Linked DNA regions of Homo sapiens: all the other regions are linked to region 4. The links are contacts of gene promoters, found by promoter capture Hi-C in human tissues and cell types (Jung and others, 2019). All regions are on one chromosome and are shown on one strand. Each heading gives the region's core, a stretch centred on a gene start or on the middle of the fragment in contact. The rest is flanking DNA. Distances are from core to core; before and after follow the strand shown.

Region 1 (2,700 bases), core at 48-2,547, 230 kb after region 4:
CCTCAAGGTACTGCTTTACCTGTATTCTGTATGTTTTAATATATAGTTTTTTTTAACTGTATTTTCTGATTTCTGTTGTTTTCTTCATTGACCTATGAGTTATTTCAAAATATATTTCTTAATGTTCTAGCCTGTATTTTCCTCCCAGTTTTATTTTTGTCATTGATTTTGAACTGTCTTCATTGCAGTCTGAGAATGTGGTCCTTTGAAATTTGCTGAGGCCTTATGACTGGATTAAATATATGGTTAATGTTCATAAAAGTTCCATGTGCATTTCAAAAATATGTATTCTGCAGTCACATTTAATTCCCTATATGTGTCCATGACATCAAGTTTGTTAATTACATAGTAATTAACATAATTTGTTGTCTGAGCTCTAATTACTGGGAGAAATAAATTACAATCTTCCATTATGATAGTGGATTTATCTTTATCCATTTTACTTTATACATTTTGAGATGTTATTAGGTGCATAAGAGTTTTAGAAATTTATGAGTTTTACCTTCTATCACTACAAAATGACCTTAAAATTCTAGTAGTTGACATCTAGTAATATTTTTTGCCCTAGAGTCTGTTTAGTTTATATATTTATGTTTTAGGTGTATTCTTGTAAATAGCATATAGCTGGATTTTATTTTTAGTCCATATTTTTTTCTTTGAAGCATTTAGATTACTTAAATTTTATGTAATTACTGATGTATTATTGATGTATTTGTATTCTCTTATTTGTGATTTTTATTCTACATTCTTTTTTCCTCTCCTCTCTTGCCTTCTTTAGATTTACTGAGCTTTTTCCCCCCTGCATTCAATGTGTTTCTTCTACTGCTTTGGAAATAATTTAGTATTGCTATTCCTTCAATGATTACCTGATAAGTTTTACATAATCTTAACTCATCATAGTCTCACTCCACATGACACTATATATTTTTTTTAAAAAAATTTAATATACTGTTTAATATGCTAAATAAAATTTAGTTATACACACATACACACACACACACACACACACACACACACACACATATATATAGAGAGAGAGATAGAGACAGAGACAGACAGAGACAGGATGATTGTGTAGCTCACTGCAGTCTCGAACTTCTAGGCTCAAGTTATCCTCCCTCCTCAGCCTCCCAAGTAGCTGGGACTACAGGCATATGCCACCATGCCTGGTTAATTATTTTATTTTTGTAGAGATGGAGTCTTGCTATATTGCCCAGGCTGTTCTCAAATTCCTGACCTCAAGTGATCATTCCACCTTGGCCTCCCCAAGTGTTGGGATTATAGGCATAAACCACCACACGTGACCTGTGGAAAAGATATTTTGACTGAGGAGAACACTAACATTTTCTTCTCTATTTTGGAGGTAATACTTCATTGTCTTCTGACTTCCTTTGGAGGCTCTCAGTCTAATCTGTTCTCGGTCTAATTGGCCTTCCTTTGGAGATGAATTTTCAGGATCTCACTCTGTTGCTTGGGCTGGAGTGCAGTGATGTGATCATAGCTCACTGCAGCCTCAAATTCTTGGGCTCAAGCAATCCTCCAGCCTCAGTCTCCTGGGAAGCTAGGACTACAGACACATACCACTTTGCCTAATTTAGTTTTTATTTTTATTTTTTTGTAGAGATGGGGTCTCTTCTGTTTTCCCATGATGGTCTCCAACTGCTGGTCTCAAGTGATCCTTCTGCCTCAGCCTCCCAAAGTGCTGGTATGACAGGTGTGAGCCACTGTACCCAGCCTAATTTATGCTGTTTGAAGGTAATTTAAAAAAATCTGCTTGTAAGATTTTGTTGTCTTAGTAATCTTGCAGTTTCACTATGTTGTATTTAGCTGTGGATATCTTTTTATTTACCATAATTAGGATTTGTTGAGCTTAACTTTGTATATTGGTGCTTTTCATGATTTCTTGAAAAACTTTTAGCCATAACTCTTCCAAGATTGCTTCTGTTCCATAAAAAATTCTTTTCTCCTTCTGAAATAGATCAGACATATGTGGGATCTTATCTTTCATGTCTTAACGTCCCTTTGATATTTTTCACCTCTTTGTGTCTCTGTGTTGTATTCCAAATTTCTTCAGATCTCACTTCTGCTTCACTAATACTCTCTTCAGCTGTGTAATCTGTTGTAAAACTATTCACTGAATTATTTTTAGTGATTTTAAAACATTTTCTTGAAATTTGTTTAGTATTTTTGAATATTTACTCTTCACTTATTTTCAAGCTGCCTTTCTGTTTCTAGAAATATATTAAACATGCTTATTTTCTCTTCTGTATCTGATAATTTTGCTGTGTGGAAGAGTTTTCTGTCTGATTCTGCTATCTGTTATTTCTGGTTGCCCTTGCTCATGGGTGCTTGTTTCCTTGTGTGTTTGGAGATTTTATACTGTGAGCTGCTCATTTTCCCTGCAGTTTCATATCTGAGGTTCTCTAAGGCCTAGAATGAAGGGGATATCTTCCAGAGAGGACTTGTTTGCTTCCCCCAGGTGACTGGGAACATTGCCAACTTCGGACCATGTTACGTTCTCTGTCAGAGGTTTCATTGAGCCATTCAGGTAGTGTGTATTTGGGCTGCAAAACTAACTGAGGGTCCACTCCTGATTACAAATTCTTAGGGGGATTTTGTTTTTCTCTGCTCAGGACCAACCTTTAAGACAAGTGATTTTTCTTGTATTTTATTTTGGATTCACCATTACATTGAAGGTAT
Region 2 (2,760 bases), core at 229-2,728, 140 kb before region 4:
CCATAAAAAAAAAAAAAAAGTCTCTGTCCTTTACTTTATTTTCATTGAGCCCCGGTGAAGCTGTATGAAGTCCATACTGCTGTCACCCTATTTTACAGATGGAGAACCTAAGACCAGAGGTGCAGGAGCTTCTTGTTGAGTTTAACGCCGTCTTGCAGAATGGATATCCTAGAATCCTGGACCTGAGTTTGGGTCCTGGCTCAGCCACTGATTTGTTGTGACAATGGCAAGCTGCTGCTCTTGCTGAGCCTCAGGGATGCTATCTAATGAGCAAAGCTATGCAGGAGGCATAGCCTGAATGTTTGTTTGTTTTTTTCCTGCCAGGGGGAAGGATTTGAAAGAACAGCATGATCAGAAAGTATGTGAGAGGGAGATGCAGCGAATCACTCTGCCCTTGTCTGCCTTCACCAACCCCACCTGTGAGATTGTGGATGAGAAGACTGTCGTGGTCCACACCAGCCAGACTCCAGTTGACCCTCAGGAGGGCACCACCCCCCTTATGGGCCAGGCCGGGACTCCTGGGGCCTGAGCCCCCCCAGTGGGCAGGAGCCCATGCAGACACTGGTGCAGGACAGCCCACCCTCCTACAGCTAGGAGGAACTACCACTTTGTGTTCTGGTTAAAACCCTACCACTCCCCCGCTTTTTTGGCGAATCCTAGTAAGAGTGACAGAAGCAGGTGGCCCTGTGGGCTGAGGGTAAGGCTGGGTAGGGTCCTAACAGTGCTCCTTGTCCATCCCTTGGAGCAGATTTTGTCTGTGGATGGAGACAGTGGCAGCTCCCACAGTGATGCTGCTGCTAAGGGCTTCCAAACATTGCCTGCACCCCTGGAACTGAACCAGGGATAGACGGGGAGCTCCCCCAGGCTCCTCTGTGCTTTACTAAGATGGCCTCAGTCTCCACTGTGGGCTTGAGTGGCATACACTGTTATTCATGGTTAAGGTAAAGCAGGTCAAGGGATGGCATTGAAAAAATATATTTAGTTTTTAAAATATTTGGGATGGAACTCCCTACTGACCTCTGAGAACTGGAAACGAGTTTGTACAGAAGTCAGAACTTTGGGTTGGGAATGAGATCTAGGTTGTGGCTGCTGGTATGCTTCAGCTTGCTGGCAATGATGTGCCTTGACAACCGTGGGCCAGGCCTGGGCCCAGGGACTCTTCCTGTTTCATAAGGAAAGGAAGAATTGCACTGAGCATTCCACTTAGGAAGAGGATAGAGAAGGATCTGCTCCGCCTTTGGCCACAGGAGCAGAGGCAGACCTGGGATGCCCCAGTTTCTCTTCAGGGATGGATAGTGACCTGTCTTCATTTTGCACAGGTAAGAGAGTAGTTAGCTAACCTATGGGAATTATACTGTGGGGCCTTGTGAGCTGCTTCTAAGAGGCTAACCTGGAAACTAAGCTCAGAGGCAAGGTAATAAAGCACTTCAGGGCTTGCTCCCCAAGTGGGCCTGATTTAGCAGGTGGTCCTGCGGGCGTCCAGGTCAGCACCTTCCTGTAGGGCACTGGGGCTAGGGTCACAGCCCCTAACTCATAAAGCAATCAAAGAACCATTAGAAAGGGCTCATTAAGCCTTTTGGACACAGGACCCCAGAGAGGAAAAAGTGACTTGCCCAAGGTCGTAAGCAAGCTACTGGCATGGCAAGAGCCCAGCTTCCTGACGGAGCGCAACATTTCTCCACTGCACTGTGCTAGCAGCTCAGCAGGGCCTCTAACCTGTGATGTCACACTCAAGAGGCCTTGGCAGCTCCTAGCCATAGAGCTTCCTTTCCAGAACCCTTCCACTGCCCAATGTGGAGACGGGTTAGTGGGGCTTTCTATGGAGCCATCTGCTTTGGGGACCTAGACCTCAGGTGGTCTCTTGGTGTTAGTGATGCTGGAGAAGAGAATATTACTGGTTTCTACTTTTCTATAAAGGCATTTCTCTATATACATGTTTTATATACCTCATTCTGACACCTGCATATAGTGTGGGAAATTGCTCTGCATTTGACTTAATTAAAAAAAAAAAAAGACTCCACATTGCCAAGTTTTTGAGGGGTAACAGGAACCCTCCGTGTAAGTTGAGAAGCTTTGGGTTACCTTGTCAACACCTATGTGGCAAGCTCTGGGCCTTTTCTTCATTCATCCTCGCCCTGTTACTGGAAAGTGACAACTGCAGCCTGTGTCCAGATTTTTTTTTTTGAGATGGAGTTTGGCTCTTGTTGCACAGGCTGGAGTGCAATGGCATGATCTCGCCTCACTGCAACCTCTGCCTTGTGGGTTCAAGCGATTCTCCTGCCTCAGCCTCCAGAGTAGCTGGGATTACAGGTATGTGCCACCACACCTGGCTAATTTTTGTATTTTTAGTAGAGACGGGGTTTCACCATGTTGGTCAGGCTGTTCTCAAACTCTTGATCTCAGGTGATCCACCTGCTGAGGCCTCCCAAAGTGCTGAGATTACAGGCTAGAGCCACCGTGCCCGGCTTGTGTGTCCAGATTATCATCATCAGGAATCTTTCAGGTTGAAGCAGGAAAGACAGGTGTGCAGGCGTCCCAACAAGGTGGTTGGTCATTGCAAATCCTCTCCCCTTCAGCAATTGTTTCCAAGGTGGAGGTAGTTAAAATGAATATCTAGACAGCCCTTGTTAAAGGCTGGAGTGCGGCAGGGGTTGGGTGGTGGGTGACGGGGGTGGTGCTGCAGCAGCCAAAGGGGGAATAACTGCAGAGGAGGAAGGGTCACTGGGCTGCCTGCAGCAGCCCTGGGCTGAGGAAGTTCCC
Region 3 (2,713 bases), core at 5-2,504, 210 kb after region 4:
GGATCTCTGCAGTGGGCTTGAATGCCTGGGCCCAAACAAAGTGCATGAGTGTCTAAAAATAGTATATTAGGCTGGGTGTGGAGGCTCAGGCCTGTAATCCCAGCACTTTGGGAGGCTGAGGAAGGTGGATCACTTGAGGCCAGGAGTTTGAGACCAGCCTGGCCAATATGGTGAAACCCCATCTCTACTACAACGTACAAAAAATATTAGCCAGATGTTGTGGTGCATGCCTGTAATCCCAGCTACTTGGGAGGCCGAGGCATGAAAATCGCTTGAACCCGGGGAAAGGCAGAGGTTGTAGTAAGCTGAAATTGTGCCACTGGACTCCAGCCTGGGTGACAGAGCGAGACTGTGTCAAAAAAAAAGTATATTAGCTTCTTTTTGTACAAGGAGGTATAATACCAGTGTATCACCTTTGTCCTGCTAATTGTAATGTCTAAAATCACTCAAACTATTTTTTTTTTTGAGACAGAGTCTCGTTCTGTTGCCCAGACTAGAGTGCAGTGGCGCAATCTCGGCTCACTGCCAGCTCTGCCTCCCGGGTTCACACCATTCTCCTGCCTCAGCCTCCTGCCTCAGCCTCCTGAGTAGCTGGGACTACAGGCACCCGCCACCACGCCTGGCTAATTTTTTATATTTTTAGTAGAGATGGGGTTTCACCGTGTTAGCCAGGATGGTCTCGATCTCCTGACCTCGTGATCCACCTGCCTCGGCCTCCCAAAGTGCTGGGATTACAGGTGTGAGGCACCACGCCTGGCCATCACTCAAACTATTTTTTTAGCATCAGGGATAAAACAAAGTCTACTGTTCATTATGTCCTTGTCAGTTACGTCCTTTATACCATATGGATCAGGAGTTCCATAGAGCCTCAGGAGCCCTGCAATATTAAAGTATCATTTTTTCAAAAAAACTAATGTAACAATTATATGTGAATCTACAGTTACCTCAAAATAATTAAGAAAAAATTATTACAAACCATGTCTACTTTCAAGATGTTGTATACTGAATTTTAATACTTTGGAGATTGCTCCAGTATTTATTTTGTGCTGCCAAGGCAATTACTGTTTTGTGTAGAACTAGAAGTTTCTCTTGCTATCTTGGTTTAGTAGGATAAGGTGAATGACACAGTTAAATACTTGCCAGTAACAGTTTTTAAAAATGGCATCTAGAAGCCTCTCCAGGCTAGGCAGCTAATGCATCTTTACAGAAGTAAACACCAGAGTTGATAAGACTGCAGCAGCCAGCTAGCACCTGCTGGTTGTGGCGTGTGTGTTCATCACAGTGGCCTCATGATTCTCAGTGATTTACGAGTAAGTCATGTTATAAATTTGAACTTGGAAAATAAATTGAACCTAAAGAGATACTACTTAACATTGTTTTTCACACTGAGATTCCATGTGACATTTCATTTGAAACAAGTATTCTGCTCCCTTTTATAAGTCTGAAAAGCCACTAGAAAAACTGCTTGTTTCCCTTCCTACCTCTCCCCCTGGAGGTTTCAGGTACTCAGGGAAAATAGTAAAAAGCTCTGATGCTGTAGAAGTATATACTACTCCACAGATCTGGAGATATCTGCTGTTGGTTGGTAGGTGGAAAGAGAACTGACATGAGCGCTGACATTGTTGGGTATGTCTTGGAAGTGGGTGGTTGAAAGGGCTGTACTGAAGTCAGACAGGTTATGATTGAGCATGGAAGAGCGATTCTGTCATCCTTTTTTGTCACTTGGAATGGTAAGAATCGCCCCTCACGCGTCCTCACGGCCTGCTGTCTGCCAGAGCACTGTGCTGAGTGCTTCACCTGTGTGCTAATTGTCTTCTTCCTTGTGGCAGCCCCACAAGATAGGCATTGATGTCTCTCTACTCTGGACGTAAAGAGGCTGTTTGCCCTTTGTATCTAAGATGTTCCTTCAGACCAGGCATCCTTGGGTAAAGCGGGCTGGAGACACCCGTGTCAGCCTAGAAGGGCCCTGGGGACCCCTGTGAACTTACACACTCTCCCTCTTGCTCTGCTCCCAACAGAAGGAGTACTTCAAGCAATATGAAGTAGGGCTCCAAAACCTGTGCAATTCCTACCAGAGCCGTGCTGACTCCCGGGCCAAGGCCTCCGAGGAAAGCCTGCGCACCTCCGAGAGGAAGCTCCGCGAGACGGAGGAGAAGCTGCAGAAGCTGAGGACCAACATCGTGGCACTCCTGCAAAAGGTGCAGGAGGTGAGCCCGGCAGCCTTCCTGTTGCAGCTGGACCACCTGGTCTCTCAGGGAGGGGGGCCTGGGCCCTGTTCCTGTTCTCACAAGAATCTATCCACTCACAGGAATCTATGGTTCTCACCCTGGCTGCACAGCACCCTGGCAGGAGGGCTTGAGATGGTGTGGCTGCCTGGTCCTCAGCCCAGCCAGACCCATAGAACCAGGCTTTTTCCCTTTAGACATTCCGACGTACAACCTGGTTTGAGAACCCTCCAAGCCATAAAAACGAAGTTCTTTTCCACATGACGCCCAGATGGGATTGGGTAGCCCAGAAGTGGGGAGCACCCCTTAGCCTGTTGGCCCTTCATCCAGGCAATAAGCATGAGGGCCTGCTCTGTGCCTGTCCTGTGGATACAGAATGAACAAGACAAGCCAGAGAAGGTTCCTGCTCTCACAGCCTGCCAGTCTGGTGGAAGAGAGAGAATTACTGATGGTGGTTCATAAGGAGATACAGTAAAGTGTGGGGAGGC
Region 4 (2,700 bases), core at 107-2,606:
TTGTTCAGCTACATCCTTGCCCTTGGGGACCCCAGGTCTACCTCCTCTGCCACCACTCGCTGTATTCCACACCCCCTTTCTCAACCTCTGGCAAGAAGGCGCTTGGTCCCTGGACTAGCCCTACCCTCTTTCCCTTCTCTTCATTGTTCCCAGCTATGATGCTTTGAGCCACAGGCCCAGGCTGGTTCTGAAGCTACAGAGATGGACCTGCCCACCCTGCAGCCCCCTTCCCCCTCTGCCACACAGTGAGCTCTCCTTCCCCAGCTCTGCCCCTGGCTTTACCTCACTGGGGCTCATCCCCTGGAAGAGACTCAGATGGAGCCTGGGGCAGGGGGAGGCTGGAGAAGCAGCAGGCTAATGGGCAGATGGAAGACAGACAAGTCACTGTCCTGGCCAGCCCTGACTCCCATCCAGATCCCCAAGCGCTGCATTCCCATCCTCTAAGCCCTCCCCAGCTGGAGCCTGTCACCTGAGGTTTTCCCACCCTCACTGAGCCTCAGTTTCTTCATCTGCACTATGGGTGTAAGCACCCTGGCCTCACTAGATGGTTGGAAGCTGGGCTTTGGGATCCAGGAACAATACCTGGGTATAGCCCCTTCCTGATGGAGAGATTCCTGTCTCATGAGGCACACATGATGCCTGCTGTGTCCCCCCAGGTGGCCAGGGATGGAGGTGGCCACAGACATACACCCTGGGCCACTCTCTGCCACTCTAGGGACCATAGTTCTTTCAAATCCAGAGCATCAGCCCTGCCCTGTGTGGCTCTCAAGGCCTGTTCCCGCTGCGTCTCCCCCAGTTATCAGACCAGGAGGGTTGCTGCAAGGCCAGGCCCATGCTTGGAGTCCTAGGAAGCGGGGAGCCCTGGGGCTCTGTCCCCTGAGTATGCCGAGAGCCTTTCTAAGAACCAGGACTTGGCAGGGGAGCACCCCAGGTGGCACTCCCTTTCCCAGAAGCCTTGGGAACTCCCAGGGTGGTAGCTTCAGAGCCCCAGCCCTTCCTTCACCCAGCCCTGGCAGAGGCCCATGGCCCCCTGCCAGCCTGATGGAGGTGGATGTGGCAGCCACCGCTGTGGTAAGGGTGAGAAGGGTGGGTTCTAAGGGACTCCTCCAAGCTCCTGAACCCTTTTCCTTCCCTTCAAGGAGATGTGAAAGCCCCAGCCTGGTCCCCATCCCACAGCTTAGGGCTTTGGCTCCCATAGTCCCAATCTAGGCAGGGCTGGCAGCAGGTGACTGGATGGTGCTGAGAAGGCAGGCAGAATGGGGGCGTGGGCCCTGGCAAGTGCACTCCTCAGCCAATCAGCGTCCTGCCCGGCTGGTGGATTCGGTTACAAGCCCAAGATCACCCCATACTCCAGCCTCTTTCCTCCTCCTCCCGCAGCTCCATTCATTGGTCCCGCCGCACCGGGCCTGCTGGGCTCCGCTTCCGTTCCACTGCTCAGCTGCCGCCTGGTGGGGCCACCAAGGGCAGGCATCCCAGGGGCTTTGTCTGACTGGACTGGGCCAGTGCAGAATGGGGGTTCAGGCAGGGCTGTTTGGGATGCTGGGCTTCCTGGGGGTGGCCCTGGGGGGCTCCCCTGCCCTCCGCTGGTACAGGACCTCCTGCCACTTGACCAAGGCCGTCCCTGGCAACCCACTGGGGTACCTGAGCTTCCTGGCCAAGGATGCTCAGGGACTGGCCCTGATCCATGCCCGCTGGGATGCGCATAGGAGGCTGCAGTCATGTAGCTGGGAGGATGAGCCGGAGCTCACCGCAGCCTACGGTGCTCTCTGTGCTCATGAGACTGCCTGGGGCTCCTTCATCCACACCCCCGGACCCGAGCTGCAGAGAGCACTGGCCACTCTTCAGAGTCAGTGGGAGGCATGCCGAGCGCTTGAGGAGAGTCCAGCAGGGGCCAGGAAGAAGCGAGCAGCAGGGCAGAGTGGAGTCCCTGGTGGAGGGCACCAGCGAGAGAAGAGAGGATGGACCATGCCTGGCACACTGTGGTGTGGAGTTGGAGATTCTGCTGGGAACTCCTCGGAGCTGGGTGAGCCATGAGGGGTGTGTGGGCTGGGGGGTCCGATCGGGGAAGCAAGGTTTCTTCAGCCCCAGCCCTTACTCTCCTAGGCTGTGTGTCCCTGGGGGAGTGACTTGACCATGGTGAACCTCAATTTCCTTATCTGTAAAGTGGGGGCAATCACGAATCTCATCATGGGGTGCTTAAATGAGGTCACGGTTGGGGAAAGTCTTATTCAAACCTGGGAGTCCTCATTAAATGCCATCCGAGGGACTGGGCAGGCTGGGGGAGGATCCAGGGTCAACTGAGCCAAAAAGCCATTACCCAGGAGGAGGCTTTGTGGGCACGGGGTGCCCAGTGGAATGGATGCTGAGACGAAAGGCCTGGGTTCAAATCCCAACTCAGCACATACAAGCTGAGCAAGTCACTTCCCCTCTCTGGACTTATTTCCTCACCTGTAAAATGAAGGTGATACCTCCCTTTCAGGGCTGGCTGTGAACCTGGATGTGGGAAGTGCCAGGCATGTGGGAAATGCTTAGTAAAGAGTGCTATTTTTTAGATGGTAATAAACATAGATGAATTTCTTGCACTATCAGTACAGATGTCTGTGCGTTTGTGTGCAGGGTTGGGGGAGGGCTTGGCACCTGAGTCAGAGTAGGTTGGCATCCTGGCGACACCTCCTTGTGCCAGTGAGAAAGGTTGCACCC

The links. The method cuts DNA at HindIII sites, captures the fragments that hold promoters and counts their contacts. A contact is called where the count stands out against the background at its distance.
Region 1: a contact is called between a fragment that was not itself captured here and the fragment with the promoter of PLA2G3 in region 4, in 1 of the 25 tissues and cell types used here (thymus).
Region 2: a contact is called between a fragment that was not itself captured here and the fragment with the promoter of PLA2G3 in region 4, in 1 of the 25 tissues and cell types used here (lymphoblastoid cells).
Region 3: a fragment that was not itself captured here is called in contact with the fragment with the promoter of PLA2G3 in region 4 in 1 of the 25 tissues and cell types used here (lymphoblastoid cells).

What each region holds. Positions count from the first base shown.
Region 1 is chr22:30,910,353-30,913,052 of GRCh38, reverse strand. LOC107985544 (a long non-coding RNA gene) reads left to right here. Exons shown (of 3, transcript NR_146603.1): 2 at 1,622-1,755. Among named protein-coding and RNA genes, the nearest start is that of MORC2-AS1, 11 kb to the left of the region's middle. The HindIII fragment of the contact is 5,460 bases long and covers 1-2,700 here.
Region 2 is chr22:31,280,853-31,283,612 of GRCh38, reverse strand. It overlaps PIK3IP1 (phosphoinositide-3-kinase interacting protein 1), which reads left to right. Exons shown (of 6, transcript NM_052880.5): 6 at 325-2,013. The coding sequence ends at 529. Among named protein-coding and RNA genes, the nearest start is that of PIK3IP1, 10 kb to the left of the region's middle. The HindIII fragment of the contact is 3,713 bases long and covers 1-2,760 here.
Region 3 is chr22:30,927,513-30,930,225 of GRCh38, reverse strand. It overlaps MORC2 (MORC family CW-type zinc finger 2), which reads left to right. Exons shown (of 26, transcript NM_001303256.3): 25 at 2,019-2,207. Among named protein-coding and RNA genes, the nearest start is that of MORC2-AS1, 6.6 kb to the right of the region's middle. The HindIII fragment of the contact is 7,715 bases long and covers 1-2,713 here.
Region 4 is chr22:31,139,164-31,141,863 of GRCh38, reverse strand. It overlaps PLA2G3 (phospholipase A2 group III), which reads left to right and starts at 1,356. Exons shown (of 7, transcript NM_015715.5): 1 at 1,356-2,023. The coding sequence starts at 1,510. RefSeq lists enhancers at 734-1,293, 1,294-1,852. The HindIII fragment of the contact is 19,816 bases long and covers 1-2,700 here.